2 separate regions of the Homo sapiens genome follow, and region 2 is linked to region 1. The links are contacts of gene promoters, found by promoter capture Hi-C in human tissues and cell types (Jung and others, 2019). All regions are on one chromosome and are shown on one strand. The core of a region is centred on a gene start or on the middle of the fragment in contact, and the rest is flanking DNA. Distances in the headings are between cores, read along the strand shown.

Region 1 (5,351 bases), core at 1-2,500:
CCGCTCCCTCCCCTCTCCACGGTCTTGACACAGATCAGACAAGAGGGTCAGGTGCAGACTCCTTTTCCAGCCCCTCCCCTTGATGCACCCACCTTGTCTACACTTGTTGCGGATGTTGCTGCCTAAGCGGCCGCTACTCGATGCTGCTGCCACCCAACCCGCTGCGCCTGCGCTTTGTGTGCCCCGGAGAGCCTGGGGCATTTCTCTCCTCCCGCAGCGCCTGAGAGCCCAGCTGCCCCCGGGCCCCGCCCTCCGGACCTGCCCACCCCAGGGAGGGGGAGTGACGTGAAGAGATGCTGACCCGAGGCGTACTGGGACTTGTAGTCTACCCCTGTAGAGCTGGGCAGAAGCAGCCCCGCCTGCAATTTTACTTTTCTATTAAGACATTTGTTCACTCATTTATCATGAAATACTTTTTCTTAAGAATCATTGAACTCAGTTCCTAGAAAAAAAGAAAAAGTAAAGTTGCAAGGAGAAGCCAAGCTCCTAGTTTTGCATGTTTTTTTGATGCTTCCCCTTTCCATCCCCAGCTTCCAGTCTAGTGAGGGAGATTACATGGAAACACACAATTGGAGCACAAGGTGTGATTTAACAATGGAAAAGATGAGCCTGACTTTTCTCAAGGGGTTCAGGAAGGCTTCCCAGAGGAGGCTGAAAGGGGCCTTGGAGGATGAGGGGCAGTTTCCTAGGCGACCCGAAATTTCCCCTATGAATACTGTCAGGATGTTGAAGAGTGCCCAGCATTTCCGTGTGTCTAGAACATAAAGCGCAGGGGTGGGGAGGGCATCGGGAGTGTCAGGCGATAGAGCTGCAGGGTTTGGAAAGAAATAGCACAGAGGCCTTGCATGACAGGCGGAGAGCTTGGATGTTAGGACGCAGTGACTGGAGCTGGGGGTGGGAGTTTCAAGATGAGGAGTGAGGTGTGTGATTAGGGGGTCGGAAAGGCCCCTCTAGGGCACAGTGAAGAATGGACTGGCGGGAGCCCACCTGGAGAAAGGAAGACTTTCTGTATCTATCACCTCGGACTGTGATCATTTCCTTCAATAGCTCAGCCCCGCAAACCCTCACCTACCAGCAGCCACAGGATGTCATTCAGAGACCAGAGGATGTCAGGGCCTAAAAGACTTCTGTCCCGTCCCCTATGTGGCAAGGGTGCCCACCCTGCCCTGGGCCCTTCCTCCTGTCCCAGAGAACTCTTCCTTACCGGGGCTGCAGGGCTCATGGTTCCTGGGTGGCCAGGGCAGCATTTCCCAGAAGGCTCCCGCAGCGGGGCATTTCCCTGAGCGCCTTAGAGATAAGGGGATCAGGAAGGTGCTACCAAGTGGGAGGCTGGAGGGGGAGGCAAGGAGGGAGCGCACAGATCCCAAGGAAGGTCGCCCTCTTTCTCCAGGCTCCTCCCAGCCTTTCCAACTGATGGCTCTGACCCTAGGTTCACTAGACAAGTCATCCCTGATTCAGAAGTGGTCTTGGCTCAGCATCGCCGAGGTTCCCGGAGTGGAATCGGGGCGAGGTTGCGGGGGCAGGACAGGAACCGGGCTGGTCCTCCTCCCTAGGTTGGGGGCGGGGCTACATCTTCATTCTTTGGCCTGGCAGGACAGCGCCCATCACCCCAGTCCTGGCTGCGCAGTCTGGCTCTTTAAGCCTTCCTCTCTTGCTCCTGAGTCTCTGTAATCCTGACCTCGAGCTACCCTCGCTCCTCGGCCCTTTGTGCGGTGCGTGCCCTGCTGAGGGATTCGCCATGGCCAATCCTATTAACCATTGAGTTCATCCCCTCTTAGCCGACTCAAGAACCAGCTCTCCCATACCGCGTTTTCATCTCTGTGCCTTTAACTCACTCTCTGTCTGGTTCCTGGAACGTCCCAGTCCCAGCTTCTCCTAGCTAAATTTTCCACCTCCACAGTGGAAGGAAGAAAGGAAGCAGTGGGAGGGGGAAAGAGGCAAGGAAAGAGATATGGAAGGAAGGAAAGACAGAAGGAGAAAAGAAGGGAGGGGAAAGACGGGAAGGCAGGTAGGTAGGGCTGCAGCTGGCCTCGGAGGATCTGCGCCTGGGTCCTGCCCCGACCCAGCCTCTCTCCAGCTCTCCCTGCTCCCCTCCCCGATGGGCAGTGGGGCATCCTTCATGTTGAGGGGCGGGGACGGTGCAATCATCTCCTAGATTTCATTCTCTGGATTTAGCAACCAGATGAAAAAGGAAGGTTCTCCAGCAGCAGTGGAGACTTCAGGGGAAGACTCTCCCCTACCTCCCAAAGAGCGGGCACTATGACGAAAAAAAGAGGAAAGGACGTGGCAAACTAAAACCACAGACACTACTACCGAATCTAAACGTAGCCGGACTTGGCCCATGTCTCTAAAAGCTGGTCAGTGACCCTCTTTGAGAAGCCAATAAGGAAGTGTAGACTGTCCTCAGGAAAAAATCTGCGTATAATTCCTGGGAGTTCATAGACCTCTGAAGCCATGATAGTCATGGTTGGATTGTTTTTAATTTCCAGAGCTGTGTAGATGGGAGGAGAGTGTAGATTGACGAGTGAGAGGTATGACAGTATGTCAGGAATTCCAGCCGCAGCAGTCCTGGCTGTGAGAGACTTTGTTTGTTCAATCAACTAAAACTTATTGAGACTAATAAGCCAACAAGTAACTTTTACATTTCTTTGTGGCTATGGTGCACAGAACCATTGGCAGAGAGGAAAAGATTTTGCCATTTCAAGTGTCCCTGGTGAATGAACAGCCCACAGATAATACATTGTTTAGGAAATAGTGGACTGGCTCATCAAATTCAAATTTACTACTTACATTTTCTAGAGAGTATAATATAATGAGAATAATTTATATTATCTTTATTTTAAAAAACTTGAAGTTTATATCAAGATGCAATTTGAGCAAAAGTAAAAGTGCTTATGAAAACATTTTAAATGGCCGGGCGCTGTGGCTCATGCCTGTAATCCCAGCACTTTGGGAGGCCAAGGCGGGCAGATCACCTGAGATCGGGAGTTCGAGACCAGCCTGACCAATATGGAGAAACCCCATCTCTACTAAAAATACAAAATTAGCTGGGTGTGGTGGCACATGCCTGTAATCCCAGCTACTAGGGAGGCTGAGGCGGGAGAATTGCTTGAACCGGGAGGCAGAGATTGTGGTGAGCCGAGATTTCACCACTGCACTCCAACCTGGACAACAAGAGCTAAACTCCGTCTCAAAAAAAAAAAAAAAAAAAAAGAAAAGAAAACACTTTAAAGTGATAATTTTACGCTTTTTTTTGTCTTTTTTTTTTTTTCCTTTTTCTGGAGAACGGGGTCTCGCCATATTGCCCAGGCAGGTCTCGAACTCCTGGGCTCAAGCTATCCTCCCGCCTCTTGCCTCCCTGAGAGCGGGATTACAGGCGTGAGCCACTGCGCCCGGCCAAAGTGATAATTTTAGTGAGATGTAATTCACCTACCATAAAATTCACCCTTTTAAAGTAAAAAATTCAGTGGGTATTTTTTTTTTTTTTTTTGATGGAGTCTTGCCCTGTCACCAGGCTGGAGTGCAGTGGTGTGATCTCGGCTCACTGCAACCTCCGCCTCACAGGTTCAAGTGATTCTCCTGCCTCAGCCTCCCGAGTAGCTAGGACTACAAGCGTGCACCACCATGCCCAGCTAATTTTTGTATTTTTAGAGATGGAGTTTCACCATGTTGGCCAGGATGGTCTCGATCTCTTGAGCTCGTGATCTGCCCGCCTCGGCCTCCCAAAGTGCTGGGATTACAGGTGTGAGCCACCGCACCTGGCCTTCAGAACATTTTTATCACCCTAAAAAGAAACCCTAGGCCAGACATGGTAGTTCACGCCTGTAATTCCAGCACTTTGGGAGGCCAAGGGTGGCGGATCACCTGAGGTCAGGAGTTCGAGACCAGCCTGTCCAACATGGTGAGACCCTGTCTCTACTAAAAATGCAAAAATTAGCTGGGCGTGGTGGCGCGCACCTGTAATCCCAGCTACTCAGGAGGCTGAGGCAGGAGAATCACTTGAACCCGAGAAGCAGAGGTTACAGTGAGCCGAGATCACACCATTGCACTCCAGCCTGGCTACAGAGCGAGTCTCCATCTCAAAAAAAAAAAAAAAAAGAAAAGAAAAGAAACCCTATAGTCTTTAGCAGTTACTCCCAATCTGTCTTCCCCCCAAGTCCCTGGCAAAATTAATCTGCTTTCTTTCTGTACAGATTTGCCTATTCTGGCCATTTCATATAAATGGAATCATGGGCCAGGCGCAGTTGGCTCACACCTATAATCCCAGTGATTTGGGAGGTGAAGGCAGGAGGATCTCTTGAGGCCAGGAGTTTGAGGTTATAGTGAGCTGTTACTGCACTGCTGTACTCCAGACTCAGTGACAGAGTGAGACCTTGTTTCTAAATAAATAAATAGTTTTAAAAAATAAATGGAATCATGCAATGTGTGACCCTTTGTGACTGGCTTCTTTCACTTAGCATAATGTTTTCAAAGTTTATCCAGGTTGTAGCATGTTATCAGTATTTCATTCCTTGTTTTTTGTTTTTGTTTTTGTTTTTGTTTTCAGACAAGGTCTTACTCTGTCACCCAGGCTGGAGTGCAATGGTGCGATCTCACTGTAGCCTCAACCTCTCTGGCTCAAGCAATCCTCCCACCTCAGCCTCCCAAGTAGCTGGGACTACAGGCACATGCTATCACACCTGGCTAATTTTTGTATTTTTGGCAGAGACCGAGTCTCGCTATGTTGCCCAGGCTTGTCTCCATCTCCTAGGCTCAAGCAGCCCTCCTTCCTCAGCTTCCCAAACTGCTAGGATTACAGGCCTGAGCCACTGCGCCTGGCCCATTCCTTCTTACTGATGAATAATATTCTATTTTATGGATATATCGTGTTTTATTTATCTATTCATTGGTTGATAGATATTTGGGTGATTTCTACTCTTTAGCTATTATAATACTGCTGTGAACATTTGTGTACACATTTTTGTGTGGACATATATATGCTTTATTTTCTCTTGGGTGTGAAATTTCTGGGTCATGTGGTAACTCTACGTTTAACATTCTGAGGAACTGTCAAATTATTTTCAAAGTGATTGCACCATTTTACACGCCCATCAACAACCTCTAAGAGTTCCGATATTTCTATGTCCTAGCCAACACTTGTTATTGTCTGTCTTAAGTATTCACTCCTTGTGTTTTTTATTTGCATTACCCTAATGACGAATGATGTTGGTTATCTTGTTTTTTTTTTTTTTGAGACGGAGTCTCGCTCTGTTCAGCCCAGGCTGAAGTGCAGTGGTGCGATCTCAGCTCACTGCAAGCTCCGCCTCCTGGGTTCACGCCATTCTCCTGCCTCAGCCTCCTGAGTAGTTGGG
Region 2 (5,617 bases), core at 1,214-3,713, 65 kb after region 1:
ATATTTCTGTGTTTACTTACATTTTGATCAGGCTGTATAATTATGAAGGGAAAAACCAACACCCTTTAAAATGAGCATGCCTGAAAGCCTGCCCTTCAACCAAGTGTCATTGTAGGGACACTGTCTCCTAGATAGGAGTTAGTGTTAAACTCTTGACTTAAAACCTTTGAGATGAGGTCCAGGTTTCCCAATATGGTATCTGAGGTAGTTCAAGATCCTCTCCCCAACTTCTTCACCATTGTCATTTATTGTCTCTCCTCCTGGCTTGTGCGTTTTACCTCCAGTACTCCTGAAGTTTGCATTGTACTATGTCTGCAGTTCTTCAGATGTGCAGTGCCTCTTTTCTCACTGTCTTTGCACGTGCTGTTCTCTTGGCCTAGATATCTCTTTGTTACTCTTAATTGGTCTACTCTGACTTAGCCTTTAAGACTCAGCCTAGGAGATAACCTTTTCCAGAAGGTTTTCCGTGATTTCCTAGGTTGGGATTGGGTACCCCATCTCTGGGTTACTCTGATTGTGGTTATCCATTTATTATTTGTTGGTCTCTTCCACTTGCAGTGGACAGGAGTTGTATCTGATCATCCTTTTATTCTCAGAGCCCATCTTGGGACCTTGTACAGAATAAGCATCAGTAAAGACATGTCAGGTGAATCCATCATTTCAAACTGGCCTATTAACAGCTGTAATTTCCCAATGAGTCAGTTACTCCATGTTGCTCTGGGCTGAGTTTTTTTTGTTTGTTTGTTTTTGTTTTTGAGACAGAGTCTTGCTCTGTCACCCAGGCTGGAGTGCAGTGGCGTGATCTCGGCTCACTGCATCCTCTGCCTCCTGGGTTCAAGTAATTCTCCTGCCTCAGCCTCCCGAGTAGCTGGGATTACAGGTATGCACCACCATGCCCAACTAATTTTTGTATTTTTAGTAAAGACGGGGTTTCACTCTTTTAGCCAGGATGGTCTTGATCTCCTGACCTCGTGATCCGCCTGCCTTGGCCTCCCAAGGTGCTGGGACTATAGGCATGAGCCATTGCACCTGGCCTGGGCTGAGTTTTAATAGAGTGTCTTCTATCATTGTTGTTGCCCCTTGCTCCCTGCCCGTTGTGTTGTCTCTACTCTACTTTAGCCCACTCTCATGTAGCTTTCCTTTACTCTTTGCCCATAGCTGGGTCAGTGGAGCTGTGTACACAGTAGACACAATGAGACTCAGAAAGAACTTGATTTATGACGGATCCCTGGAATCTCACTTGGAATGAATGCAGATCACATTGGTAAATGGAGAAGACGGGACCTTATGATTGCTTTTCTGACTCAGTCTAGAGTTCTTTTTTCTGCTTCAAAGTTTCCTCTTTATTAACCTTTGGTCAGTTTTAATTTGTAGATAATATAAAATGAATGCTATAAAACCAAATTGTATCAAATGCTTGTGTATTTGATTTTTACAACTGAAATATAAGACTTGACTTAACTATTTGATGGTAGAAAGATTGAGACTTTAAGAAATGTGGGTTTTTAATTACCCTATTAAGCCATTAGTAGTTTCTGGCAGGCAATTTTTTTTTTCCCCAGGCTGGAGTGCAATGGCACCATCTCGACTCACTGCAAGCTCCGCCTCCTGGGTTCATGCCAATCTCCTGCCTCAGCCTCCCGAGTAGCTGGGACTACAGGTGTGTGCCTCCACGCCTGGCTAATTTTTTTTGTATTTTTAGTAGAGATGGGGTTTCACTGTGTTAGCCGGGATGGTATCGATCTCCTGACCTCGTGATCCACCCACCTTGGCCTCCCAAAGTGCTGGGATTACAGGCATGAGTCACGGTGCCCGGCCTCTGGCAGGCAATTTTAATTAGGATTCCCCAAAATATTTTGCTGATTAGAGTCTTTGTAGCAAGCAAAAATAATCACTTATGCATCTATGCATTATTTTAGTCAACATGGATATCAGCCTCTATGTTAGGTTGGTTTTGATGATACACGGAGATGAGTAAGGTGTAGTTGCTGTCTTCAAGGAGCTCCAGATGCAATAGAGACAAGGTATAAACAAATAAGTTGGCTGGGTGCGGTGGCTCATGCCTGTAATCCCAGCACTTTGGGAGGCCGAGGTGGGCGGATCACAAGGTCAGGAGTTTGAGACCATCCTGGCCAACGTGGTGAAACCTCGTCTCTACTAAAAATACAAAAATTAGCTGGGCATGGTGGCGCATGCCTGTAGTCCCAGCTACTCAGGAGGCTGAGGCAGGATAATCGCTTGAACCCGGGAGGCAGAGTTTGCAGCGAGGCGAGATTGCGCCACTGCACTCCAGCCTGGGCAATAGAGGGAGACTCCATCTCAAAAAAAAAACAAAAACCAAGTTACAGTTCAATGTTATAGATGTTATAAAATAAGTAGCAGAGACAGGGTATTCAAACCTTTTTTTAGGGAAGAGTTCTTGGAGGAAGAGTAACCTGAGCTTATTTTTGAAAGAAGACTAGGTCTTATGTGTGGACAATTCTGGACATGGAGTCAGAAGAACTGAATTTGAACCCCAGCTTAGCCACTTACTAGCTGTCTGACTTGGACAGGTTGTTTAAGTACTCTGTGAATCTCAGTTTTTTCCCATGTAAAGTGGGGACAGTCATATCTATATCCACCTTTGAAATTCAATACATTTGAAAGAAGCTCATAAATGTGATATACAAGTATTCTGTTTTTTAGCTCATAAATGTGGTATACAAGTATTATATTCTGTTTTTTTCCAAGCCAAACTGTATCCAGCTTTATTAAAGATACTGTCCGTAAACAATCATGGCATTTCAGACAGGACATGTGCAGACAATCGTTAACAGTATACAACAACTTTCAAACTCCCTTCTTTAATGGCCTACCAAAAATCAGAAAGCCACTATAAAACCCAATGAAGTCTTCATCTGATGCTCTGAACAGGGAAAGTTTAGAGTGAGGGTTGACATTTCACATTTAGCATGTTGTTTAACAACTTTTCATAAGCTGACCCTGACTTTCAGGAAGTGAAGTGAAAGTGACAGAATTTACCTGAAGATCCACAATCTAGAAACGGAACCACTGCTCTTTTGACAGGTGCCATCTCAGTGGCATCACTGGAAAGTCCAGATTGCCTGACACACTGGTAACCAATGATTAGGGGTCAGGTCCCAACAGATGTCTGGGTTTAAGGGAGTTAAGTCTAGCTGAAAGGTAGAAAGGGAGAAGAGGACATAAAAACAAATTTGTTTTTCCATACCACAAAGCTTTTGTGCCAAGGTGGCCATGTGTGTCAAAGTCAGGGAATCCCTGCTCCTGGGAGCCAAGAGGAAGTCTCTCAAAACTGGAAGGGAAAGGTGTTTTCCCCACATCAATCCAGCTTTGGAGACATTTTATTAGTGACATAAGCCCCTTCCTCTCAAAACAACAAGGACATGTTCTGTGTGCTAACAACATAGCTTAAAAAAGTAAAACAAAATTCTGCATTTTTATAAAACTTGATTAAAAATAGTATTTCAAACTGTACAGTCACCAGAAGTACATGGTTATTAAAAATGCACACACTTCGCTTGGCATCTCCAGCACCTTCAGCTTTCTGTCCCTGGTCTGTTTTGGCATCTCCATTTTCTGTAGGGTTATCCCCATCCTGGCCAGCCTCAGCTTTTCCCTTTTTCCCTTTGGGTACCTTCTCTCCCTTCTTTGCAGGGGCTTTTTTGGCCTGGGCTCTATCTTTGGAGGAGCAGGTTTAGCAGACAACCTTGTGGATCTTCTCTGTGGTTCATCCTTCACCTTGGCTTTATCTCCTTTAGCATCCCCTTCAGCCTTTCTTGGGCATGGTGGCGGCGACAGTGACGGCAGCGGGACGTAGGCACTGGGCGTGGGATGCAGCGGAGCACAGGCTTTGGTTGGTCTGGGGGTCGTTCTCACCTCTTCTTCTGGTTTTTGTTTTTTACTTATTCATTGACAATTATATTTTGACAGATTGTAGCATCAGTTTTCTTACCCAAACCAGAAATAAGTGAGGAAAATATTGAGTATATTAGTGTGTAGACATCATTTATGAAGTGCTAACACTATAAACATGTATCAAGGCAAATATTTTAAAGTTCAGATCCATGAAACTTTGATTCTGTGCTATTGTACAAGATACTGCTTAAGGTACCTAAATGAATGGTATCTGAAAAATTATTGAGTTTGCTTCTGAGTGGCTTGGATAGCAACCAGCTGAACTAGAAAGAGCCTCATTTCTTGTCAGAAGACTTATGCTTGCATCCAAGTGATGCAACTTATGTCTGTGCTGCTGAAGGTTATTTAACATTTCAGAGTTTCATTTTCTCCATCAGTAAAGGAGAAAAATAATAGTTACTTTGTAGACTGTGAATTAGGAATAAACTGGATAAATTGCTTACCACTAGCTTTTATCAGTTAAAAGTTAATTTATGGAATATTAAACAAATTTCCATTTAATTACATTTCTTTAGAGAAACTTGCTCTAAATGGTGGGTGGGGGGAATTCTGTTATTTATGCTTTACTGACACTGATGATATTTTACCTCCTTCTTCCAGTTATTCCTCAATAATTTTGTAAGGTGAGTTTAAATCTCAGCTATTGTACTTCCTTGCAGTGTGACCTTCAAAGTTACTTAATCTTTCTATAACTTATTTTCTCCATCTATTAGGTGGAGAATTAATGGCATTTATATTATATAGTTACTTAATCTTTCTATAACTTATTTTCTCTATCCATTAGATGGAGACATAATGGTATTTACATTATATAATTGTTAGGAAGTAACTAAAGTGCTTAGTTCAGTGTTTGGCACATAGTATGATTTCAGAAAATGGTAGTGCTATGGACTGAGTGTATCCCACCAAAATTCATATGTTGAAACCCTAATCCTCAGTGTGATGTTTGGGGTGGGATTTTTGGGAAGTAATTAGGTCATTAGGATGGAGCTCTATAAGTGCCTGTATAAGAAGAGACACCAGAGAGCTTACTTCCTCTCTCTCTGCTTTCCACTATGTGAGGATACAGTGAGAAGAGGGCCATCTGCAAACCAGGAAGCTGACTGTCACCAGACACCAGATCTGCTAGTACCTTGATCTTGGACTTCCCAGCCTCCAGACCTGTGAAAAATAAATGTTTGTGGTATTCTGTTATGTACACAGCAGCCTGAGCTGACTAAGATGGATAGCATTGCTATTGTCACTTTCATTTTATAAATGAGAAGGTGAATACAGATTTAGAAACCTGATTAGATTCATAGTAAGAGGCAAGGATGGGATTCAATCCAGGTTTGTGTGATGCCAAAGACTTTACTGTTTATTCTTTTACCAGGCTACATTTTGTAATTAACATTTCATTTGTATGGAAACGTATTCTGAAATGCTGTAGAGTGCTTGGAAGTAATTTGTTATTCTTGGGTATTTAAAACTTTCAGTGATGTTTTACTAACCGTTTACATAAACTTGAAACTAAATTGGTTAGGGAAAGAAATCTTTGGCCTGGCCTCCCTGTGATCAGACAGTTTTAGGGCAGATATTCTGGGGTGGTAGTCAGTGGTTAGTAAAAAGAAAATTGTGTGTGTGTGTTTGTGTGTGAGTGTATTTTCTCCTAAACAGCTTCATTGAAGTAAAATTGGCATAC

Evidence for each region. Contacts are between HindIII fragments. The study calls those that stand out against the background at their distance.
Region 2: a fragment that was not itself captured here is called in contact with the fragment with the promoter of PLEKHB1 in region 1 in 3 of the 25 tissues and cell types used here (IMR-90 fibroblasts, neural progenitor cells and spleen).

The regions. Positions count from the first base shown.
Region 1 is chr11:73,642,480-73,647,830 of GRCh38, reverse strand. PLEKHB1 (pleckstrin homology domain containing B1) reads right to left here and starts at 1,250. Exons shown (of 8, transcript NM_021200.3): 1 at 1,205-1,250. The coding sequence starts at 1,222. RefSeq lists enhancers at 1-131, 767-1,685 and a silencer at 172-391. The HindIII fragment of the contact is 18,602 bases long and covers 1-5,351 here.
Region 2 is chr11:73,578,441-73,584,057 of GRCh38, reverse strand. The region is part of intron 1 of FAM168A (family with sequence similarity 168 member A); the gene reads left to right. It also overlaps the pseudogene HMGN2P38. Among named protein-coding and RNA genes, the nearest start is that of FAM168A, 17 kb to the left of the region's middle. The HindIII fragment of the contact is 9,693 bases long and covers 1-5,617 here.